7 separate regions of the Homo sapiens genome follow, and regions 1, 2, 3, 4, 5 and 7 are each linked to region 6. The links are contacts of gene promoters, found by promoter capture Hi-C in blood cells and fetal thymus (Javierre and others, 2016). All regions are on one chromosome and are shown on one strand. The core of a region is centred on a gene start or on the middle of the fragment in contact, and the rest is flanking DNA. Distances in the headings are between cores, read along the strand shown. Region 1 has its middle 93 kb from the start of SEC23A-AS1. Region 2 holds the start of RALGAPA1 (Ral GTPase activating protein catalytic subunit alpha 1). Region 3 overlaps MBIP (MAP3K12 binding inhibitory protein 1). Region 4 has its middle 130 kb from the start of SSTR1. Region 5 holds the start of BRMS1L (BRMS1 like transcriptional repressor). Region 6 holds the start of DORIP1 (dopamine receptor interacting protein 1). Region 7 has its middle 150 kb from the start of LINC00517.

Evidence for each region. The method cuts DNA at HindIII sites, captures the fragments that hold promoters and counts their contacts. A CHiCAGO score of 5 or more calls a contact.
Region 1: a fragment that was not itself captured here is called in contact with the fragment with the promoter of DORIP1 in region 6 in 4 of 17 cell types (activated CD4 T cells, non-activated CD4 T cells, total CD4 T cells and 1 more); the score reaches 9.9 in activated CD4 T cells.
Region 2: a contact is called between the fragment with the promoter of RALGAPA1 here and the fragment with the promoter of DORIP1 in region 6, in 9 of 17 cell types (naive CD4 T cells, naive B cells, total B cells and 6 more). The highest score is 29.5, in naive CD4 T cells.
Region 3: a contact is called between a fragment that was not itself captured here and the fragment with the promoter of DORIP1 in region 6, in 2 of 17 cell types (non-activated CD4 T cells and naive B cells). The highest score is 7.2, in non-activated CD4 T cells.
Region 4: a contact is called between a fragment that was not itself captured here and the fragment with the promoter of DORIP1 in region 6, in 3 of 17 cell types (naive CD8 T cells, activated CD4 T cells and naive CD4 T cells). The highest score is 6.8, in naive CD8 T cells.
Region 5: a contact is called between the fragment with the promoter of BRMS1L here and the fragment with the promoter of DORIP1 in region 6, in 2 of 17 cell types (total B cells and total CD4 T cells). The highest score is 7.2, in total B cells.
Region 7: a contact is called between a fragment that was not itself captured here and the fragment with the promoter of DORIP1 in region 6, in 1 of 17 cell types (naive CD4 T cells). The highest score is 6.1, in naive CD4 T cells.

Annotation. Positions count from the first base shown.
Region 1 is chr14:39,008,928-39,012,258 of GRCh38, reverse strand. No RefSeq gene overlaps it. Among named protein-coding and RNA genes, the nearest start is that of SEC23A-AS1, 93 kb to the left of the region's middle. The HindIII fragment of the contact is 1,742 bases long and covers 527-2,268 here.
Region 2 is chr14:35,807,384-35,810,990 of GRCh38, reverse strand. It overlaps RALGAPA1 (Ral GTPase activating protein catalytic subunit alpha 1), which reads left to right and starts at 1,696. Exons shown (of 42, transcript NM_001346249.2): 1 at 1,696-2,261. The coding sequence starts at 2,156. RefSeq lists enhancers at 1,550-1,649, 1,486-2,046 and a silencer at 1,730-1,969. The HindIII fragment of the contact is 1,366 bases long and covers 380-1,745 here.
Region 3 is chr14:36,311,263-36,314,833 of GRCh38, reverse strand. MBIP (MAP3K12 binding inhibitory protein 1) reads left to right here. Exons shown (of 9, transcript NM_016586.3): 3 at 1-143; 4 at 226-322; 5 at 2,810-2,875; 6 at 3,109-3,261. Among named protein-coding and RNA genes, the nearest start is that of MBIP, 7.6 kb to the left of the region's middle. The HindIII fragment of the contact is 7,085 bases long and covers 1-3,571 here.
Region 4 is chr14:38,071,217-38,074,669 of GRCh38, reverse strand. No RefSeq gene overlaps it. Among named protein-coding and RNA genes, the nearest start is that of SSTR1, 130 kb to the left of the region's middle. The HindIII fragment of the contact is 8,133 bases long and covers 1-3,453 here.
Region 5 is chr14:35,824,258-35,827,674 of GRCh38, reverse strand. It overlaps BRMS1L (BRMS1 like transcriptional repressor), which reads right to left and starts at 1,337. Exons shown (of 10, transcript NM_032352.4): 1 at 1,017-1,337. The coding sequence starts at 1,158. RefSeq lists silencers at 777-946, 1,197-1,296. The HindIII fragment of the contact is 11,609 bases long and covers 1-3,417 here.
Region 6 is chr14:44,895,988-44,899,672 of GRCh38, reverse strand. It overlaps DORIP1 (dopamine receptor interacting protein 1), which reads right to left and starts at 2,398. Exons shown (of 5, transcript NM_001017923.2): 1 at 2,105-2,398. It overlaps LOC101927418 (a long non-coding RNA gene), which reads left to right. Exons shown (of 3, transcript NR_110050.1): 2 at 360-443; 3 at 597-765. RefSeq lists silencers at 1,744-2,063, 2,084-2,213 and enhancers at 1,580-2,079, 2,704-2,753. The HindIII fragment of the contact is 3,873 bases long and covers 1-2,739 here.
Region 7 is chr14:38,050,521-38,053,948 of GRCh38, reverse strand. No RefSeq gene overlaps it. Among named protein-coding and RNA genes, the nearest start is that of LINC00517, 150 kb to the right of the region's middle. The HindIII fragment of the contact is 1,194 bases long and covers 779-1,972 here.

The sequences.
Region 1 (3,331 bases), core at 148-2,647, 5.9 Mb after region 6:
CCGAGCAAGAGAGGAGGAGGAAGTGCCACACACTTTTAAATAACCAGATCTCATGAGAACTCACGACTGTCACAAAGATAGCACCAAGCCATGAGGGATCCCCTCTTGTGACCGAATCACCTCCCTTTAGGCCCCACCTCCAACATTGGGGATTACAATTCAACATGAGATTTAGACGGGACAACATCCAAACCATATCAATAAGGTTAAGAAGTTTAGATTTTCTCTTGAAGGCAATGAGGATCACATGGCAGAATAAAGCAGGGAAATGTACAGAATGGAGAAGCCTGAAGAGTGTCAGGCTGAATGCAATCAACAAGGAGGTGTCTGGGAAATACCTGTCATTTAGACACGAGAGATGATGTTCTGAGGAGGCCTGTGGAAGTGATAGGATTTAGACAAGAGGGATGATGTTCCGAGGAGGCCAGTGGAAGTGATAGGATCTGGAGGAGAAGGCTGCTCTGCTTGGAGTCACCTCTCTTTGGCTAGAAAGCTCATTCTTAAAGGTACCTTCCCAGTGAAAGCTTCTCTGAATTCCCATGACTTGCTCTTATGGCTATCTGTACACAGTCAATATTACACGGTTTCTTTGTTTGTTTTGTTTGTTTGTTTGTTTGTTTTTTTTACAGTATTGGTCTTTCCTGTTAGAATGTGCTGCCCATACTGAGGGCAGTTATTTTTGTCCAAAGTTTTTGCATTCCCAGAACTTATTACGTGGCTTGGCACATAAAAGGCTGCCAAATATTCGTTGAATAAATGAATTAAAAAATGGATGGGTAGTGGGTTATCTTGTGAAATATTATGGCCAAGCCATTGCATTAAAAATCTCAAGTGGACACAAATGGAAGACTCCAGGATCCTGCAGTGCAGACAACGGGCATTGCCCCAGAGCTGCCATGTCAAGGATGTCAAGTCATGGAGTTTGAACACTAGGCATGGGCACTTTGGCTTTTTGAGTGAAAAAAGTTGTTTCTGGGTTTTAATGTGTTTAGGGATATAAAGAATCAGGGACCCCTCTATTCTATGGTCCTCTGACCTGATGGACTGAAGTTCCAGTGTGCCACCATGAAATGCAAGGGAAGTAACAGGGAGCCACATCCACCCACCTGCATCTCAGATAGACATCCTCCACACGGCCTATTTGCTGTTTGCATAGTAGACTAAAATAAAAGCAACTTTGAACTACTTGAAGTCTCTAGGCTTGCTTATCCTCAAAACCAAAGCAGTTTGCTGTGGTCTAGCCTAGCTATTCAACTACATATGCACAGCCTTTGTTATTGTTAGAGTTTTATAATTTTTGCTAGGCTAACTGGTGTGAAACGGTATTTCATTATTTGATCCTGATTTATTTAAGTTTTAATCTTTTATCTAAAAAAGTTCTCATATCTGGATTCCTGATGTGAATCCAGTAGTCTTCTATGAGTACTTTCTATCTGCTTCCTAATTAGATTCAACAGAAGTTTGTCTCTTTTATCAGTTCTTTCAAAGAACCATCTTTGGGGGTAATACATCAGTTTTAATATTTTTCTATTTTCTTATTTATTACTTTCTTCTTTTCCTATTCATTAATTCCTTCCTCGTGCTTACCCTTGACTGGTTTTATTGCTTTTATTTGTTTGTTTTTAGAAACAGATCTTGCAGAGTTTCCCAGCCTGGAGTGCCATGACTATTCACAGGCACAGTCATGGAGCCCTACAGCTTCAAACTCCTTCAAACTCCTGGGCTCACGTCATCCTCCTGAGTAGCTAGGACTATAGGCATGCACCATTGCACGTGGCCTTACTGTTTTCTTATAAGTTCTCAGTTCATTATTTTGACACTTAAAATTGCTTAATATTTAAAGTGCTTACAATTTTTTTCCCCTGAGTGCCTCATTTGTAATATCATATCCTTTTATATGTACTGCAGTGTTCTCATTTTGATTATTTCTAAATTGATTGTAACAGTAGTTTTGATTTTTTTCTTTTACTTAGAAGGTTTTTAGAAGGTGGTGCTTGACTTGTGGGATACATAATTTGATATATATTCATTAAATAGTATGTATTTTTTAAAACATTGTGTCGTGTTTAGTTTTTTCTTATTGGATTTGTCAAGGTGGAGACTGTCAAAATCTCCTATTATGACTGAGTTACTGAAGACATATCCTTGCATTTTTAAGAAATCTGTATGTGTTTCAATACAATTCTAGTCAGCATGTAAGGATTGGACTGTCACTGTGATACAAAGAAACCTTAATATAAAATGATAGTATTTGCCCTATGTAAAGCTTTTGGCCTTAAATTCATTTTAATTTGAAATTAGTATTTTCTTTTCTGTTTCTCTTTTGTTTGCCTTTGTCTTTCATATATTTTTCCTTTTCTTTTACTTTTATCCCATTTATGGCATTTTATATTATAACAGCCTCTTAAAAACAGCAGTTTGAACTCAATCCGCAGCCCTTTGACTTTAATGCATTAGGTCTTACTTATCATCTTGTTTCAAGTTTTGTTTTGATAGTTCTTTGCATTTCTATTGTTTTGAAGTATGGATCTTATTTGTCCTTCTTTGGAGATAAACACACATTTAAATTTTGTTACAGTACTTAGTTTTCAAAAGCACTTTTTTTTTTTTTTTTTTGTTAACTGCAATCACCCCCCTATTTAATACCTGTTGGGTATAATCAGCACTATATTTGGTCTGGGGAGTTTGGAAAACGGAAAAGCTATTTCAGCTTTCTTAAATGATTTAGGAGTGATGCAGAGTATAAAATCTCAAATTCAAAGTGAAGCTGAGTCATTCCTGGGTCTGGAGATGCCTACTATCTGATTGAAGAAATCAAGAGTACTGCAGACCACTGGGACCTGCCTAGGTGGAACTCAGCACAACTCTGGTGCAGCTGGAAAGAAACATTTGGGAACATTCAGATTCATAGTTTTTGGGTATAACTTGGAGGATATTTGAAAGCACTTCAACGGAATTGAACACTCAGGAGGTGGGGGACAGATGTTTACAGGCCAGTGTTAGATGGAGGGGAAGTAAAAACCAGGGTTAGACTCTCTGGCCAGAACTTGAAATATTTTCCTGGTTATTGGCTTGTCCAGTACTTTCTGTTCAAATGTTCAAAGGTCAAACTTGATGTGTCCTCATGTCCAAAAGCACTTTTTAACTTACATTTCTCCAGTTGTTAAAGAGTAAAGTCATGTTTTTCCATTACCTTCCACCTTCTTGCTGCTCATTGTTCCTCATTCACCCATTTTTGTTAATGTATTCTGGATTATTGTAAATTTTTTTTAATTGTAAAAATCTAGATTTAAAAATTCCAGATTATTATAAAAATATAAAAAATTGTATC
Region 2 (3,607 bases), core at 447-2,946, 9.1 Mb after region 6:
CAAATTACTGTATTTAAATTCTATGAAGGAAAGGAATGTTATGAGATGTGTCATTATAGATGTAACTTTCAATACTTTTCTCACCTAATTATCACAATCACTGATGTAGTTTACAAATGAGGAAAATCAGGCTGAGACTGAACTACATGCCAAGGGCCCGAGAGCAAGTAAGTCCTTGCAAGTGAAAAACAGAATGTCTAATTTAGGTCTATGTAATTCTAAAGATCATGCTTGAAAACATTGTATTATTGCCTAAATTTCACGAAACTGTGAGGGACAGACCTTATTTTGATTTTATTAATAAGAAAACTGATGCTGAGAGGAACTAGAACTAAAATCTCTTGAACAATCCCCTTATTTTTCTATTATGTTATAAGCTTCCTCAAAACATGTATGGCTTGTAAGTTTGATGATACAAACAAACCCTACATGTAGAAACTGAATAAATTTTTTGTACTTTAAAAAATATAGGATTGTTGTTGAAACAAACTACCATTAAGCAAAGCACTATATTTTAACATAATTTTGGCAAATGTCTTACATCTCTCTTCTTTGCTGATTTTGTTATTTTTCTATGTTAATCACATATTTCATTGGACAAGTCTATTGCTATGGGTGAGAACATAGAAGGAAACAGTTCAAACAAGCAAACTCACTCTTTATCAAATTATTTTGTGGAGGAAATGTTCCTGGCCAGGCGCAGTGGCCTCACGCCTGTAATCCCAGCAGTTTGGTAGGCTGAGGCGGGCGGATCACTTGAGTCTAGGAGTTTTAGACCAGTTTGGGCAAAATGGCGAAACCCCGTCTCTACAAAAAACACAAAAATTAGCTGGATGTGGTGGCGCGCACCTGTGGTCCCAGCTACTCGGTAGGCTGAGGTGGGAGCATCACCTGAGCCTGGGAGTTCGAGGCTTCAGTGAGCTGAGATCACACCACTGCACTTCTGCCTGGGACACAGAGACCCTGTCTGGAAAGAAAAGGAAAAAGGAAAAAAAAAAAAAGGGTTCCAATAAAAATTTCAATTTATGTCATTCAGAATTTCACGGATTTTTTTCAGCTATTGCAGATTCTTCAGATGACTCCATCAATGTAATAAGAACCTTGAATTCTTCTTTGCAGAGGAAAAACTGACAATATATTCATCTTTATGTGGGGTGCAGATGGGGAAAAGATTTTTAAAAGCACAATAGAAAAGGAAAGCAAGATTACTTTTATTTAAAAAACCTAGATACCTCTGCTTAAGCCTTTCTGTTGTCAAGTTGTTTGCAGCAAAAAACAGGGATATTGCAAATAGAAAAAATATGAAAGAAATCACATACATAGTGCAGGAAATATTATTAGTAATAGATTTAGGACAGAATAAATTGCCCAACTGTAACTTCGTTTATCTTTCTGCTAGAGGATCTGGTGGCCACAACAACTTATGCACATTTTCAAAGATAAATCATGGACATATTTAATAAAGATTACTTCTCTTTGCTTATTACTATCATTTGGCTTACAATGGAGCACGCAGTAACTACCTTCCTTGCCTTTCTTGAGATTCTCCTTTGGCTGCTTACACAGGAAACCAAGGCGGGGAGTGCCACGGGTGATCTCATGCTGGCATGACGTCAAGAACTCTTGACGTCAGAAGGCGGTTGCCACGGACACCGTTCGCCACCGACGGCAGAGTCGTGAAACCCCATCACTACCACACTCGTCTCCGTTTCGGCCTCTGCAGGGTGTAAGCTGCTAAAGAAGCTTCAACCTTAAGGGGGCCTCAGGGAGAGAGTTGTGCTCCTGCCGCCGAGAGCTCCACCTTCGTGGCTCTGGGTCCGGGGCCCCGGCCTGTGGCGGCGAGCGGCGGCCGCTGGAGACGAGCGGCGGCGGCAGGCGGCCAGCCCGGGTCTGCCTCGCTCCGTGCAGGGCCGGGAGAGGGATCCGCCATATTGGAGCTGGGGCCGAAGGTGCCTTGGAGCCGCGGCGCGAGGCGGGTGGAGGTGGCGGCCCTGGCCTGGATCGGGAAGGAGTCGGCTCTGCCCTGGCCCGCAAGGCTGGGGAGCTAATGAGCCTCTCTGGCTAGTCTCCTCCCCGTCCACTCCCTCCACTTTCTGCCGCCGGGACCCGGCTGGGAGCCGGCTGTGGCAGTGGCAGTGGCAGTGGCAGCGACAGGATGTTCTCCAAGAAGCCGCACGGGGACGTGAAGAAGTCCACCCAGAAGGTGCTAGACACCAAGAAGGACGCACTGACTCGCCTCAAGCACCTGCGCATCGTCATCGGTGAGGAGCGAGGGGTGGCAGCGCCGAGGCCTGGGTTGCCCGGCCTTCCCTCTCCTGGGAGCCCCTGCGGACTCTCTCTCGGGACCTGGCGCGGTGCAGGAGAGGGCAAATCGTAGCCTCTGCGGAGACGCGGGAGGGTGAATAATTCGGAGAAGCGAAAACTTGGCAGTTGGCAGCACTGATTACTGTTAACACAGTAATCTAATTTTGAGTTAATAGTCTGAACTTATTTTTTAAAATTGGTATTACTCTAAAAACTTAGATCTTTAAGACTTTGTGGGGAGACCTGGCGTTGTGGATAATGGTGTTTATAGGATATGTTTGCCAGATGACTACTGCCAACCCCACCCAAGTAAAAAGAAAAATAAAATCCTCTCTCAGACAATATAAACCTTAATCTTTCAAGTTTCTTGGCAGATGAAGACAAGGAGGTAGCAGTTACACCTCTTTGGGAAGTGGGCGGTTCCCAAAAAGCTGTGGGAAGGAGCCCCGCCCTTTTGTTAATGCACCTTGTTCATCACTAGTCATTTAGAGGGAGAACTATTATAGGTAGTTTAACTCATCCTTTGCTTCTCGAGAATTGTATATAATTCTATTTTTAATTAAAAATATTTTTTTTATCGTCTGCCCTTAAGTTCTGTTTTGCTGGTAGACCAAACAGTGCTCTAAGTTTTGAATATAATGTTAATCGACTCTTTTGAATACTTAGTCATTTGGTAGGCTGATAAAGGCTGTAATAATACTTATGGAACATCTGGTCCAGTAGTTGGATTTTTTAGATGAAGACATTTGAGATGAAAAGGAAAATTATTTCGCCTGTGTTGATACTTAGAGTTAATGGTGGAACTGGCTGAAGAAGATGCATTCATCCAGATGCCTGAATCCTAGTTCAGAGTTTATCTCGAGCTGTCCTCCTGATGCGTATTTGTTTTGGAAAGTGATGTTTATTTAGTGAAAAAAGTAAGTCCCTTATTTGAGGTACATGTTTCTCTAGTCTATTGTTTACTCATACCACCAGGATACCACCAATATTACCCAACATTTCTATGATGCTTTACTGTTTACAGTGATTTCACGTAAATTATGATAATCCTTGCAATAACTCTATAGGTAGATGATATTATTCTCCATTTTTTACCAACAAAAAAGCTGAAGTTTGGGAACATCGAGTAGTCAGCCAGCTACCAGGAGGCTGAGTCAGAATTGGAACCCAGATTTTGTGTCTCTAGTTTGTTTTTTTACTCTTTCTACATTTATGACAGCTAATCTTTGTCACAAGTAAATTGTATTTATTCCAGTGGAGTAGTAAGAAAGCAGTTAATCCAGTTTAGCGCTATAAAAAGCTC
Region 3 (3,571 bases), core at 317-2,816, 8.6 Mb after region 6:
ACAAAAATGAAGTAAATGACAAATTTTCCATTGGCGACCTACAAGAGGAAGAAAAGCACAAAGAAAGTGATTTAAGAGATGTGAAAAAGACACAGATCCATTTTGATCCAGAAGTAGTTCAGATAAAGGCTGGAAAAGCAGAAGTAAGAAGGTTTTTTGGCGGGGGCGAGAGGGTATTATTTTAAAAAATCTTATGTTTACACTGTTAAAACTTGTTGTTTGTAGATTGACAGACGAATATCTGCATTTATTGAAAGAAAGCAAGCTGAAATCAATGAAAACAACGTCAGGGAATTTTGCAATGTTATTGATTGTAATCAAGGTAACTACCTGGAAATTAATTTTCATAGGGTTTTAAGCACAATTTTTATAGTTGCTCTAATCTTTTATTTATTTTTTAAATGAATAGCTTTTAGAACACAATTCAATTTATTTCATGGATTTAGTTAGTAATTAAGACAGTAGAGTTTCCTTCTGCTTAATAATAGACTATATTGCAAACTGGTTTTCATTTTGGTTACACAAAGTAAATGCTAACATTAAAAAGTGTTTATCACAGGTGAAGATTATTTTAAAGTTCCTTTAGGAAATGAAGGTGAGGTACGAGTGAGAAGGTTGATCTATCTCACTAGTAAAAGGAACTGAGCTCTATGAATTTCAAACCTATACATGTACTGTGAAATCATGATGTTAATACGTAAGTGAACTTAGTAAAGTTAATATTCCTCCAGAGGGAGCAGTTTTCTCACTACTCCTGAGCTGTTTGAAATGTCCTGTGTCACGATACAACCAATTTATCATGAAGACCATGGTGTCTTGCTTTTTTCCTTTCTGCCATAGTGCATACATTTGCTGTTTTTCATCTGATTCACCTTTACCTCTCTACTTGATGCTATAGTACATTTACAAATCTGCAAGTATGCTGCAGAATACAAAATATTGCAATGCAGTGCCATAGATTATACTCAGGCACCATAGTAATAATCAGAACAAGTAGTTCTTAGGAAAAATTATGGAGAAGAGTTCATAATTGGAATGAACATGTTTCTTGTTGCCTCTAATATCTCATGGCTAATTATTATGAACATAGAATTGTCAGATGAACCTAGAAATGACTCATATCACATTGGTACACTGATTCTCTTAATGAAATAATATAGGCTGGTATTGGGTCCTGAATTTAGCTGTGTGCTACTATTAACATTACACATGTGCATCTCTAAATTTGGTATATTTTCCTGTTAGCTTTTCAGAACAGGTGCAACAATGGCAAAATCTCAGGTACTACAACCAACTACAAGCGACTATGAGAAAGGGTTTGTTGAGAGAGCAAGCACATGTGTCACTAATGTTATTCCTCTGTTCTCCCTGCTAACTCTATTATTATAAACCACCAGGGGATAGAAATTGACGAGAATTGAAATGCTCAGCAGGATTCCTTGGCCCATTCAATTCTTTGCTGGCTCAAAACAGTGCTAGCAAGAATTGCTGTGGAGAGTGACTAGCAGTCATACACTCACACCATGCTGAATTTCTCACTGATGGTCAGTTAATCTATATGTTTGGAATATAGTTCTGGAATGGATGATAGCTTCTTTTTTTAACCCTTAGCCCCATGAAATGGTAGGAAGAGAATGGAGAAAGGATGGCCCTTTAAGCATATTTTGAGGTGCCTCCAAAAAAAAAAAAAAGGAGGAAAGATGTCTATTTAGTCTCTAGATATAAAAGCTAAGTGGATTTGGAATTTTATGCATACTATTTGATTTATCAACAGAACTACTAAGGAAAGTTCAACTGAAAAAAATACAAATGTATTTTAATATGTTAGTGTGTTCCTTTTAATACCTACAAATTTAACCTAACTATAAGCAGTGGAATTTTTAAAAATCAAATTTCATAGGGGGGAAAAAATAATTTTTTTTAAAGAATCTCATTTACCAGCCATTTTTTACAAAATATTCAGGGGAATTTTACAGGAGATTTACTGCCAATGTGTGGCCTTTAAACATTATTTCAAACATAAGTATATATTATTACTATGTAGTATCGTATGTTAATATATAACAATTATGTTAATTAGTTGTATTATATGTTAACATCTTTCCAATTTTCCCCTTTTGTAATTTATGCATTGATACTTAATTTGAAAGAAACTACTTTTCAGCTTGGAAAAAAATAGGGACAAATTTTCACAATAGACCTTTACTAAAATGAAACTTTTTTGAAAAGTGGTGGGATAAGAAGAAGTAGATGACTTTTGTGATGAAGGGTTTTTAAAATGAGCACTGGAAATCTAGGTAGAGTGGAAATGTATGTGTACTTGAGGTTTTGAGGTCATCTTTGTGTGGAGTTCTGAAATAAAAATGTTAAATAATTCTTTTTGTTGGATGTTCACTAATTTGGTCATTAAAATAAAAAATGCTGAATTAAAAGAATTCTAGTAAAAATGATGAGTTTTATTTCTACGATGAAGTAGAATTTAAATACTCTATGGTAGATTATTTTCTCCAGTGGCCCAAATAGTGACATTGGTTTTCAAAATTGTATCAATTTGTGCCACTTAATGTTGATGGCTTTTCTGTATATAAATCTGAACATTAGGTAAGAATATTAGATATTATGATAAATTTTGACAGGTAAAGAAGGTCACTAAATTCTATCCTATGTGTGATAGTAATTTATTGTTACTATTATTTATTAAAATTATTATGAGTAAAATGTTAATATGAATTATTGAAAGTTTATTAAAATCTCATACATTTGAAGGGAAGAATATATTTAAACTTATATTTATCTAAATTCTCCTTAGAAAATAGTTGTGCAAGAACTGATGCGATTTTTACCCCTTACCCCGGATTTAAAAGTCACGTAAAAGGTAAGTAACCACCACATGACATCTGAGTCACTGACAGAAGTCTAGATTATTAGCAAAATGGAATAGAAATAACTTTCCCATCTAAATTTTATTTTAAAACAAAAACATCTTGCCGTCCTTCATACTTGTGGTTAGATGGTCTTTATGAAAAAAATATAAAGTGCTGTTAAGGAATAAGAATTTCTGATTTTTGAAATACAAATGTATATAGGCTCAAAAGTTTCTTAATTTAGTTTCTAGAGTTGTGAATACATACGGACCACAGACTAGACCTGAAGGAATTCCAGGGTCAGGTCATAAACCTAACAGCATGCTTCGAGACTGTGGTAATCAGGCTGTAGAAGAACGACTACAAAATATTGAGGCCCACTTGCGGTTACAGACAGGTAAGCAAAGTGCTAAGTGGCACCTCATAATGAACCTTTGCAAATGGTTAAAAAATTGCAGTTCATTTAGTCACCAAATTTTCATTTAGCTCCTAACATTTCTTGAACAGTAAGTGCCAGTCACTCAGGAAGTGTTATGTGTATGTCAATTCACTTAAAAGGTCATAGTACCCTTTTGAGATGGTGGTGGTGTTATCACTGTACAGATAAATAAATTGAAGTTTAAAGAGCCCAAGCAAACATGCCTAAGATACTAAGTGACAACTCTAAAAAAAAAAGAAAAAAGAGATAGTCCAGTCTTGCCCAGGTT
Region 4 (3,453 bases), core at 267-2,766, 6.8 Mb after region 6:
TGGGTACATGCAGGACAGAGGATGCCTATTGTGATCATCCCTCAGTAAAAACTCTAGGCATTGAGTCTGTCTTGTGAACTTCCCCAGTAGATGACATTTCACACATTGTTACGATTTGGCACTGGAGGAATGAAGCACATCCTGTGTTACTGCACTGGATAAGGACTCGGAATCTTGTACCTGTTTTCCTCCAAAAAACTTTGTCCCATGTACCTTTTCCTTTGCTTATTCTACTTTGTATCATTTTGCTGTAATAAATCATCACTACACAGTAATGTGCTCTGAGTCTTTCTAGCAAATCATGAAGTCTGCCCTTTCAGGAAGTCCTTCATGACTCTTTCTCTTTGGTATGACAAGTGTCACTCCTCTGGCTACAGGCTACTCTGCCTTCTGGGTCTCAGAGTGAAGATGACATGACAGAGCCATGGCCAACTTGGAGTGGTCTAACATAAACAAAAACTAAAGCTCACAAGTTGTAAGCCCCTACGATTTTGGAGTTTCCATTACCACAGCAAAACCTAGCTTTTCCTGACTGACACATAATTCTGGTGATACATTAACACAGTTCTTTTGTGCTCCCAAAGCCTTTTCTCACATTATTTACTTTGACCTTCCCAAAACTTTATGAAGTATGGAAACCAGATGATATTTTTATGCTAGAGACTACACGGACCTTTGTTTCATTCTCTAATATCATGTGACATTAAATAAAAATAAATAATTAATTAAATCCCTACTCAATCCCTATTCCATGGATGCATGGTTCTATGGAGTTGTCCATGTAAGAAGCAGACGAATAGCAAATGAGTCACGGCAATTTGGAGCTTTCAAATTCAAAACACAACTTTTTATTGTGGTTCCTATTAGTAATGACTGGTTTGAGGTTTTGGTTTTTGTTTCTGTTTTTTTTTTTTTTTTTTTTTTTCCTGTCCACAGCACCTCAATAGATATAAATGTCTTTCCAGACCTCTGGTTGTCCATCAGTTTATAAACCTGCTCTGGTTAATTAATAATCGTTTCTTTGAGGTTAATAATCTCCTAGGACTACCAAATTAGATGTGATTTATGCCACATAACCTATATTTTAAATCATATTGAAATAAACATTGCCTTCAAATTTAGTGAAACTCAATGGATTAATCCTTTATTACCATTAAACAAATCACTCCAAAATTGATTGGCTTAGAACAAAAATAAACACTTATCATCTCACAGAATTTCAGTGGGTTGAGAGTTTGGGAACACCTTAGCTGAGTGGCTAAGGACTCTGGCTCAGGACTTGACTTGTCCTCAGTTTGCAGTGAAGATCCCAGTGGCCAAGGCTGCAGTCATCTCCAGGCTTGACTAGAGTGGGAGGAGCTGCTTTCATGGTGGCTATTTGCATAATTGACAAATTACTGCTGCCTTTTACAAAGAAGCCTCAGTTCCTTGCCACATGTGTTTTGCCATAAGGCTGCCCAAGTAGCCTCTAACATAACACCTGGCTTTCCCCAGAGCAGGTGATCCAAAAGAAAGTAAGACAGAAGCCACAGTACCTTTTCTAACTTTATCTTGGAAATCATACACCCTCACTTCTGGCACTAGAATACATGTTACTAGGTCCAGCTTACACACAAGAGAAGAGAAATTAGACTCCATCTTTTGAAAAGAAGAGTGTCAAAGAATCTGTGAACATATTTTAAAACCATCATATCCCTTGTAGGTAATTATTTAATACTATTGCTGTTCACCAATATGTTCAGTGGGGAGCCACTTCTGGGCACTCCCCTCATGTTTGGGTAGGACCATGTGACCAGAACTGGCCAAGAGTTGTGAGTGGACTATTCAATAACTATTTCTAGAAAATTGGCTCTCCATATGGAAAAAGACAAAAAGATATTATTTTATGTCCATTGAAAAAATGCAAATGAGTTAAAGAAGAAAAATCAGTAATATGACATTTTTACAAGAAAACATGTAACATTTTATGCCCATGACAAAGGTAGGGATTTCCTAAAGAAGACACAAAAACCATAAACTATGATGAGATATCATTTCATCAAATTTGCCACAAATTAATAAATCTGAGAGCACAAACTCTTAACCAATTAGCTATTGCTGGTGTGACTGTAAATTTGTACAACCATTATGAAGAGTAATAGAACAAAATCCAGTAAAATCTAAAATGTGAATAGTCTCTGAGTAAGAAATTCCACGTCTGGGCTCATGTTCTTTAACTTGGAGAAGCACAAGGGATGTGTACACAAGGATACACATGCAAGGATGTTCACTGAAGCACTATTTAAAGTAACGAGAACCTGGAAATAACTTTACCATCTCTCAAATGTCATTCATACAATGGAATACTATACAGCAATTAAAATAAATAAGCTACATCTGCATTTACCAACATGGATAGTTCTCAAAAATCAATAATGAGTGAAAAGGCAAATTGCAAGCTGGCACTCATATGATTCCATTTATGTGAATTTTAAAATATGTGAAACAAAACCATATAGCATTATTGAATAAATACGTTTGTAGGAGGGGTATTTTTTAACTTGCATGCATTTCAAAGTTGAGATAACTTCTCCTGAAAAAAATAGGCGAAAGAATTGGGAGTTGGAAGAAGGGTGGTTTGTCGTATCAGGAATATTTGTTTCTATTTTTTAAAAAGAGATCTGAATTAGGTATAACAAAATGTTACCATCTGCTTACTACTGATGATGAATGTTATTGTTATCTTCTACAATTTTCAGTGTCTTTGGAGAATTTCATAGTTAGACACTACAACTTTAAGAAAACCACTGAATTAGATTATCTCAATTTTTTTTATATTAAAATTTACAGTTCTAATGAGGGGAGGGATAATCCCTAAATCATGGTGGGTGATTTGCAAGATTTTGAGCTTTTTAAATTAACCTGCATTAGCAGCTCCTCTGAGATGAACTCTGTATATGACATGCCAAAGTCACATATCCAGAGCAGGACTTGCTGATGACTATGGCCCAGAATGGTCTCAGGCCATCCAAAGTTCTTTCTGTTTATGACAGAAAAGAGAGTCCCATTATCTCTATTCTGGAAAATATCACTCAAATCATTTGTCAGTGTTCCCTTCAAAAATCCAAAGTGGTTTGCACTCCTCTGAGTGTTTTTATGGGTCAAACTAGATATAATAAAAAGTATTTGTTTTGTTTCAAAGGAGATAAGTTCAAGCTATTCAATTCCCTCTTTCCCACAAAACCAATCCAATCACATTTAAATTTATTAGGAATGAGAAACACACACATATCTCCATCATCCCCTGATTTCCCAAAGAAGGCTTTGGAGAGAGTGGAAAACATGGGAATGATACTTTGATTATCATTGTTATTTCCTGGATACAGCTGGATTACAAGAAGCTGTGAAGTGGTTTTAGTTTTTAAAAAAATCCAACAGTTCTAGTTTTGCTGACAAGATAAAGGTCCAACTTCC
Region 5 (3,417 bases), core at 88-2,587, 9.1 Mb after region 6:
TATTTATCCCTCATATTGAGTACTGTCCAGTGCTGCACAAAGAAGTCACTCATAAATATTTTTGGATGGCTGATTTACTGATTGAAATTATATCCTTCCATGGAGATTTGCTTTGCAAGGGAAACATGAAAAGAGGGCATCTGGGTGATACTAGGCTGTCATCAACCTATCATCAATGCTTCCTTTACATGACCAAAATCAGGCCAAGACAAAGAAGTCAGTCTCATCTCCATCATTTGAATCGAAAGAAAATAATCCCGGTAATCACAAATTCCATTTCACTTTAGAATAACCATTCCTAAAAGTTTGCAAAATTTATTTGTAGTGTTAATCTGCCCTCCTCCCCCACCCAAAATAATTTAAAACAGCCCAAAGTTAGAAAAAACTGAAGGGAAGAAAAGACTTGGAGAATTTTCAACGCTGCCAAAACTCAGCCAATTTATAAGCATATGAAGATCCAAAATGAGCCCGAATGTTGGTCCCTTCCTCTCAGTCTTGCAAACTTCAGGGAGCTACTGAACGGGACCGCTCTCAAGTTAGCCCCCGAAAAGACACTGATGTAAAAGTGCTGACCGGCAAGTTGACTTGCAAACTGAGGTTAATTACTAAGCCGACCCTCTGTCCCGGCAACTCACTTGCGCTGAGAAGTGAGGGTTGCAAAGGTGAAAATAGGGAAAGAGGTCGGTGGGCTGGGGAGAGGAGGCATTTCCAGTTTGTCTGCTGCGGGAAGTTGTCCGCCTGGGCTGGTCGCTCCAGAGCACCACCGGGGGCAGGACCACGCCGCGTTTGGGAGCTGGACAAGCCCAGGCCCGCCCCGCCCCGCCGCCGGGACCCATCAGGAGCCAGACAGCGCCCAGCGACCGGTCAGGGTGCAGCCCAGGGCCCAGAGCCAGTCTCCGCCCCTTCCCTCTGTCCCCGCCCCGCTTTCCCAGCAGGACGCAGCCGCCTGGCGTGCGGAGAGCGGCCTGTCGCGCGCTGGGCGCGGGGACTCAGGGTCCCAGCAGTGGGTCGCGCACCTGAGCTATCTCCATCCTCGGAGACCGACGAGCTCTCAGTGTCCTCGTCCTCGGAGCTGCTCCCCTCATTTTCGGCGTAGTCCACCTCCATCTCATCGTGATGGTTGGTCTCCTTCTTATCCCCTCGGGAATGGACTGGCATTTTCCAGCCGCGCCGTCGCTTTCCACTACCGGCGCCCAGCCCGGCCACCGCCGCTTCAATGAAGGGCGCGCGGAACGCCCCAACCCACCCAGCCACCGAGCTTGCTCGCCCCCTTGGCTCCTCCCCGCCCCCGGCCCGGGCCTCACAACCTAACCCGCAGGCTCTGCGATGGGAGCTCTGCCATTGGCGGAGGCCTTCCACCGAGCCAGAGGGCGGGGGCTTGCCCTGCTCTGGTACGATTGGTTGCCCGCAATTACGACGCGGCCTTCCGATGCTTGCCGGGAGTTGTAGTTCGTAGGTCTCAGACCTGCAGGGGCTGCACGCTTCCATCCCTCGGCAGCCCTGATCACTTCTTCCTTCTGGACTTCAAGTCCCACAAGGCACGAAAGCTGACACTCTGGATCGCAGTTTATAAACTAAACAGAAACAGATTGTGCGAATTTAGTCTGTATTTATCTATTTCCCGCCAAGTGATTGTTTGACCTGCCTGACCATCAGAGATGTTACTGTTAGATGTGAAAATGTCTTTTGCCTAAAAGGATCTTTGCCTGCTCATTGAGCCTGGGGAACTGGAGAACCATCTGTTTTACTAAGCACCTTTATTACCTACCATTAATAAACTGTTTTATTTAATTATTAACTATAGACGATAACTTGCACTTTCTGTGTTGTGCAAAAATCTTTAAATTATTCTTGAAACTTTTACAATACAGAAGGTAAGGAAGTTTTATCTTGGCATTTTCAATCTAATATTTTTGGCATTTATTTTTTACCAAATGCAGTCGGAAAATGCCATCAGTCCTGATTTAACTTTAGTTTTCAATGAAAAATACATACTTAACCAGATGTACTTTCTCAAAAAAAGGGTACATAGCTCCCTCTCCCTCTCCCTCGCCCTCGCCCTCGCCCTCGCCCTCTCCACGGTCTCCCTCTCCCTCTCTTTCCACGGTCTCCCACTGATGCCGAGCCGAAGCTGGACTGTACTGCTGCCATCTCGGCTCACTGCAACCTCCCTGCCTGATTCTCCTGCCTCAGCCTGCCGAGTGCCTGCGATTGCAGGCGCGTGCCGCCACGCCTGACTGGTTTTCGTATTTTTTTGGTGGAGACGGTTTCGCTGTGTTGGCCGGGCTGGTCTCCAGCTCCTAACCGCGAATGATCCGCCAGCCCCGACCTCCCGAGGTGCCGGGATTGCAGACGGAGTCTCGTTCACTCAGTGCTCAATGGTGCCCAGGCTGGAGTGCAGTGGCGTGATCTCGGCTCGCTACAACCACCTCCCAGCCGCCTGCCTTGGCCTCCCAAAGAGCCGAGATTGCAGCCTCTGCCCGGCCGCCACCCCGTCTGGGAAGTGAGGAGCGTCTCTGCCTGGCCGCCCATCGTCTGGGATGTGAGGAGCCCCTCTACCTGGCTGCCCAGTCTGGAAAGTGAGGAGCGTCTCTGCCCGGCCGCCATCCCATCTAGGAAGTGAGGAGCGTCTCTGCCTGGCAGCCCATCGTCTGGGATGTGGGGAGCACCTCTGCCCCGCCGCCCCGTCTGGGATGTGAGGAGCGCCTCTGCCCAGCCGCGACCCCGTCTGGGAGGTGAGGAGCGTCTCTGCCCGGCCACCCCGTCTGAGAAGTGAGGAGACCCTCTGCCCGGCAACCGCCCCGTCTGAGAAGTGAGGAGCCCCTCCGCCCGGCAGCCGCCCCGTCTGAGAAGTGAGGAGCCCCTCCGTCCGGCAGCCACCCCGTCTGGGAAGTGAAGAGCGTCTCCGCCCGGCAGCCACCCCGTCCGGGAGGGAGGTGGGGGTCAGCCCCCGCCAGGCCAGCCTCCCGGACGGGAGGGAGGTGGGGGGGTCAGCGCCCCGCCCGGCCAGCCGCCCCTTCCGGGAGGGAGGTGGGGGGGTCAGCGCCCCGCCCGGCCAGCCGCCCCTTCTGGGAGGGAGGTTGGGGGTCAGCCCCCTGCCCGGCCAGCCGCCCCGCCCGGGAGGTGAGGGGCGCCTCTGCCCGGCCGCCCCTACTGGGAAGTGAGGAGCCCCTCTGCCCGGCCACCACCCCGTCTGGGAGGTGTGCCCAACAGCTCATTGAGAACGGGCCAGGATGACAATGGCGGCTTTGTGGAATAGAAAGGCGGGAAAGGTGGGGAAAAGATTGAGAAATCGGATGGTTGCCGTGTCTGTGTAGAAAGAAGTAGACATGGGAGACTTGTCATTTTGTTCTGTACTAAGAAAACTTCTTCTGCCTTGGGATCCTGTTGATCTGTGACCTTACCCCCAACCCTGTG
Region 6 (3,685 bases), core at 1,149-3,648:
CCTTAATTGGGGGTACAGAATAATAGCCATTACATAATCTTTATATTAACTATACTACATATTTTATTTGTTGTAGAGAAAAACTATGTAAAAAAAAAAACTCCTGTTGCTATATAGACTAAGACTAATTCTGACATTTAGCTTTGAAAGACAGCATGAGGAGTAATCATGAAAATCAATCTTAAGTGAATAGTAGCATAGCTAATATTGCTAATCACTTTGGGATTTTTATTTGCAACTGAGAATTGTGCTATTGTGCAATTTAGATATACTATAATTTTTAACTACAGAGGCTATACTATGAAGATCTGATTCAGAACTTGATAAATATCCTGATTATTCCCTATGCATGTTTTCAGAATGAAGCAAAGCATCCTCCCTTTTCAAACTGGCACTCTTCCCCAACCTTGAGGACCACTAGGCACTTTGTTTTTAAAGCCACAGTAAGTATTTTAATAAATATGTTGTGTTATATGTATGTTATATAGCGCACATACTTTTGAAAGAATGAGTTCTTTTTACAATTGTATTGAAAAAACTCCTTCACTTTACTTGGGACAAGCAAATAAACTAACAACATCATATTGTTTTCCGAGGTTACTTTTATGGAGAAGTATTGTTATGAAAAAAGGGAGGCATCTGAGGAGTGGAAACAGAGAAATGAGTGACTGAGATCAGTGTCTTATTTTGACCATCTTTTCCAAGTGCTGCATCCTCCCAAACACAACATGAACTCAACACTTAATAAAGCTGCAGTCCTACGTGTTTTATTTGTGTAAGAAACTAAGTCCAAAACATTCTGCAACGCGAGTAAAAATTCACTTCTGCAATATATTAAACACACATGAACACAGTGTTTTCAGTTTGAAGCAAGATACTGTGGACTCTAAAATATCCAGTAACTATATTTAGTATGAAGAGTGGATGTTTATATCTAGTTGGCCAACACATTGATTCTAGTCATCCACTTAGGAAGAAGAGGGTGTGGCAAATCTGCAGCCTAGGAAAACACAAACTCAGTTTCTTCGTAATAGATACTGATTCGTTTTGTTTACAAAGATTTTAAAAAACAGTTATGCATTCAAATACTTTAAAAACGAAAATAACTTTATGGTTTGATTTATTTCCGTTGAATTTTAAAGAACTTTGTAGCAAGGTTTAAGATTGCTTAAAGAGCCTGAGTTCGGATTCCTAAAATAGTGCATTGGGAAGGAAGCATAAATCTCTAGGATATTTTCTTCACATTATCTTCAGACATGACCAAATGAAGTGTAACTACCCTTACACTCTAAGAGAATTAAACTATAATGACATATGTGGCATGAAACTTTAGTCTTTCTCTGGAAAAAACGGGAGGAGGGAAGGTTTGGAAGAACTAGAGGATACTAGTTTCATCATGAATTTGGTGATTTGTTCCAAAGTAAATTGCAATAAAAATGAGGGGTGGGGAAAAATGATGGAAAGATAGCTGTGAAGAGCTTTACTTAAAATTGTCTTAGCTGTTTAGCTAGGAACTGTAATTAGAAGGACTGGAGGATGTATTCCGCTGGCTTTATTCTCCAGGCTCTACGGGCCCTCCAATTTGAATAAACCTGGAAAACTCTCCTGACCTCTATTTCTTTGACAAAACATCTTTCTTTCGTGGTGACTTCCAAGGGAGGAAATTGGTACCCCAAGCTAGCCGTGAGGACCCCACCACATGCCCAAGGCATTGAACGCCAGACTCCCTAAGGACTCAGGGATTCTAAAAGTCCCCTCTCAAATCAGCGCCTAAAATACGCCTGTACAGCCACGCGCTACCGCTCCCAGCAGCGCGGGACTTCGGGACAGGGACAAGGCGGACGCTAGGCGTGCGCCCCCGGGGAGCCCCCACGTTCCGGCCACGCCCACCCTGGCCCTGGGCAGCCGCGCCCGGGAGGCCTGGCACCGAGGCGGGCGGGTCCCCGAGTTAGGGGCCCGCGAGTCGGCTGGGCGCCCCCGCCTCTGCCCGGGCAGTGCCCCGCCGAGTGCTCAGAACTGCGGACAAATAGGCTGGAGGGCCGGGCCGCGGAAGGCGTTCCCACACCGGCCAGTCTCCGTCCACCAGGAAGCAAACTCCTCGTACCTCCCTGGGGACCGAAAACTGCCGGTGCCGCCGCACCCGTCGCCGCCGCCGCCTGCTCATGGAGAGCCCGGGCTGCCGCCGCCGCCGCCGCCGCCGCTGCCTCATCTATGAGTACCGCCGGCTGTCTCGGCCTCCCCCGGCGTGAGTTCTGGGCTCTGGCATGGCCTCCATGGCAGCCGCCGCGGCGGGAGCCACAGCAGCTCCAGCGCCCAGGCCCAATCTCACTGGACCCACGGAGCCAGGACAGTGGGACACGTCGCTTCTTATTACGGAGGAAGATTCGGCACGACCTCCGCCCCCCTCCCCCCAACCCCCCCGTTTTCAGCCGCCTGACAGCGCAGCTGCGCAGGCGCGAAGACGCCCCAGCCTAATGTGCGTGTGTCGGCTGTGTATACAGCATCCAGATTCGCCCAATGGGAACCAGGATCAGGTGTGGGGGGCGGGACCTCGCAGAGAGGGGCGGGGTTCCACTGGTAGAAGGTGGGTGGGGAAGCCGGAAGTGGGCAGAGTTTGCACGGAGGCGGAGCTTTATTGGCAAACCTGATTGGCTTTTTGAGGTTTGTACCATTTTAGGACTTGATTTTAGTTTGCTTCTGGGTCTTGTTTTCTCAAATTCTTAACCTAGAAAGAAAGCTTTGTTTTCTCAGTAAATTACGGTTTTTTAAGCGTTTAAGTATTTACTTAGAAAACAGTTGAATTGATCTGTTAAATGCCAGCTTTAGTGTTCAAGTTAATTATTGGCCAATATACTGTAACTTACAGTGGAAGTTAACCCCATTTTGAAAAATTAGATTGTTTTAATTCCATTGTGAAGTTGAAAAAATTGGGTTTTGGAGATAATAAGGTCCCACACAGCAAGTGACGGAGCTGGAAATTACAGTTAGGACAACTTAATGCTAGTTTGTGGGCTCAACCACTATTTCTGTTTATTAGGGCCGAGTTTTTGTATCTCCCGTAAAGAAGCAAGGCCCTGTATGGCTCTGCATCTGGAGAACACAGGCCACCCTGCAAAAACTACCTCTCCTTGCAAGTAGGCATGGAGATCTGGTTGAGATTTTCCCCATCCAGCCTTTCAACAAATAATGAGGGTCTGGAAAGTTAGCTCTAACGTTCAGAACACGTGAGGGCTAATGAGAGAGCTCAAGGCTATCCTAGTAAATCAGTGTGGTTTTCCGTCACAGGCTGAGCCTGGGAGAGGCTGGATGCCTTCTTGACCGGTGTGATGGTCGGCCAAAGCTATGGAGGGGAACTTCCTCATGGATCTCTCTAAAAAAGTCTAGAAATGGAAGAGAGACTTCCATTTCTTGAGTTTTGGCTCTGCCCAAAAAAGAATAATTAATAGCTCTGGCAAAGCCTGCTCTTTTTAGTTTCCTGTTTTTTCTTATTTCTTATGGTATTTTATAGATGAGGAAACTGAGGCTCTTAGAGATAAACTAGTGTGTTGGAAAACTTGCAAAAAGTTCACTCTCAATATTAATCCTCTCCTACAGGTAGAAAAGCCCTTTAAAAATGTTTGTAAATGTGGATTATGTGTTTAATTATAAATCTCTCACAAGACATGGAGTTCATTTTATACTGATT
Region 7 (3,428 bases), core at 126-2,625, 6.8 Mb after region 6:
TTGCTGAAGGGCATGTTTCTACACACCAGAGAGTGTTTCCCTTTCTAATACATTCCACTGCTGAACTCTGTAACCTCACTTTACAGAACTGCCTGTCATAAGGTGCTCAACACACTCTCAACTGCAAAACTCCAGATCTGAACTCTTTGCACTTTGGAGTGACAGTTTTTGGGAACCAAACCATTCCACACAAATTGCCTAGGGTAATGAATAATACTCTCCTTCTTTCACCTGGATATTTTTCTAAGCCTAGGAAAGGGCAGGCAAAACATGTACTGTGCTGAGTTCAACATCAAAATAAAAGGGCCAAACCACAGGGTATTTGCTGGCCTCTGGGAGCAAACAAATTCTATATGCATGACTCCTAAAAGACCCCTCTTAGAGACCTCCCTGCTCTATTGGTCTGAATTAAATAGTGGCAAAGATCCTCAGTACCACCACTACTTTTAAGGGACATTGGGCTTTTCTGAAATAGCCTCAGCTTCTAGAAGACCCTTAGATATTAGGCTTGTCTCAGAGAATTCCATTCAATATCAGCTAAGGTATCTTAAAAAACCTTTAGAAATCTTTTTCCTTTTCACTGGTCTAGTGAGAAAAGGATTGAACTGGAATTCACGAGAACTAAATTCTAATATTGCCAGATCCATGTCTAGCTTTGGACTTCTTCTCTTCTGAAACACAAGGTCATCAGTGGAGATACAATGGGTATAACAGTGCCCAACTAATCTAGTTCATCAAGTACTCATGAGGATCAAATAAGGTAATGTATAAGAAAGCTTCTGATAAAATGTAAATACTATGAGTCTAAATGAAATAGGGGAAGCCTCTCATGGCTGTATCATATTTCCCAATCCTCACTCCAAAACTATAAAGCCCTGGAAAGCAAAGAGACAGGTCCAGAGTCTCCTCTGCATCACCCACCAGGCATAACACATACCCTGGCAGCATGTGCAGAGGTTCTGAGCACCACCACTCAGAAAGGAGGAGCAGTGCCTGGCAAGGTTCTTGGCAGACACCTAACCAGGAGGTGCCTGACACCGGTGGTCCAGGAGAAACTTATGGAGAGAGAGGTGGCAAGGTCATGATCAGAATATTCTACTCTTTTCCTTATCTTTCCACTATTCCTGCAGACAATTTTATACCTCAATCCTTGACTTCAAAGTCACAAAGGTAAGCCTTTTCCATCTAATTTCTCTTAAATCTGGAAACCCAGACAGAATGAGTATACATTCAGCTTTTCCATAAGATAGTGAGATTACTCTTCAAATATGCACCATCTAGAAGACATGTGGGTTGCAGGAAAGAGAAGACTGGACTTTTCTTAAGGGACATTTACCAGGCATAAAGAGGATGTAGACTTCAATATCAGAGTTCACACTTCAGGGATTCTTAGGACAAGAATGAAACATAAGATAGAAGAGCCTTTGGATGGAAACTGCTTCCCTTGTAGCCCAAGGCAACTGTGGTTACTTTATGGGTTTGCTGGTAAAAAATCTTTCAGAAGAGCCCACATCTTCTCTTCAGATTCCTTTCATAAACAAAAGTGTAGATGCAATCACTGATGGAATGTTCTAACTTGGATAGTCACTAGAACCTCATAACCATTACGCGTAGAACTTTACTGTTTATCTATCTTGTCCCACACCTTCCTACCTCATCCTCACAAACCCAATTGAGTTCATTACCTCAATGAATGGAACCACCACATCCCAACTGCACAAATGAAAAAACATAAAATAAAATAAAAATAGGAGTCATCAACTTTTTCCTCAACCTCATGTTCCCAAATGCAGTCATCAGATTCTTATGATTTGACCTCCAAAATACATGTTAATTTCACATTCACTTCTCTTCAACTGCCATTTTAGTGAAGGCTGCAATCATTTCTGACTTTGTTTACTTGAATCTAAGTTGCCATTGTTTGTAAACTACATTATTATGCTTTGTATCACTGAGAAAGAAAATAAAAGCTTTCTGTTAATTTATGACATGCCACTAACGGTAAGATGAATCCAGATTTAGAGATAATAAAATGTGGGGGGAAAATTGTATGTCTTAAAATTAGTGAAATACAGTACTTGTCAACATCGTAACTGCTATCTCTGCATTTATTCATGTGGTCTTCCAGTTCACTCACATTACATCTAGAATGTTCTTTCTATAATAGGACACATTACTGTTTTTTGCTTAAGACACTTCAAATTATTCTCTATATACTCAGGATGAAATCGAAAACAAGCACAACATATAAGGCCCTGCTCGTTTCTCCAGCTCTTGACCCTCTGTTTTTCTTACTCTAAACTCCAGCCATGCATAGCTACTTCCAAGTTCTGAAAAGAAAGAAAAAAATAATGTTCTACTCAAACTTCAGATATTTGCACATACACTTCCCTCTGCTGCAATGATATTCTCAGCCCTCTTAACCCCTACCCAACCTTCAGGTCTCAGCTAGCTCAAATTGTCATTTCCTCCAGAAGCTCTCTCTATCTCCAGACCAGGTCTAGATGTCTCTTCTGTGTTCCCATAGTACTCTATGTTTAACACACTCTATGTTTAACATCACACTCCACAAAAATTCCCTTTCTGTTTGTCTCTCCCTTAACACTAGAGAGTCCTTGAGATAAGGGACGATGCTGTAACACTATCATATCCCAAGTGTCTCACATGGTGCCTGACAGCTAAATACTTGTTTAAGGTTGACAACACATGAGGAACCAATGAGAGTTTACCATCCAAACAAATACAATAAACCATAGGATTTTTCTTAAATGAATTCATAATTGTTCAATTATCTTCTACCTGTCAATTGCCAAATCTCTATAATAAATTTCTCATCAATGGGATAAATATGCTTTAAATTACAGTCATATTGTATTAGTCTGTTTTCACACTGCTCTAAAGAACTACCTGAGACTGGGTAATTTATTTTTTCTAAAAAAAGAGAGATTTAATTGACTCACAGTTCCACATGGCTGGAAAGGTCTCAGGAAACTTACAATCATGGCAGAAGGTGAAGCAAGGCATGTCTTACATGGCAGCAAGAGAGAGGGTAGGGGAACTGCCAAACACTTTTAAACCATCAGATCTCATGAGAGAACTCATTTACTATCATAAAAACTGCATGGGGGAAGCCACCTCCATGATCCAATCACTTCCCACCAGATCCCTCCCTCAACACATGGGGATTACAATTTGAGAAGAGATTTGGGTGAGACACAGAGCCACACCGTATCACAAATGCTCAGCTAGAGTTAGATGCTGCTATGTCTTTAGGGAAACTAACCTCATGTTATAGAGATAAACTGATACAAGTATGGAACAAGCTTGAAAATAAAACAATTAGAAAAAAAGCAATGCAAGATAAGTCAAAAAGTACCTAACTATGTGTGGCAGATTATATTCATTGTTGGCACTCAGATGAAAAAGAG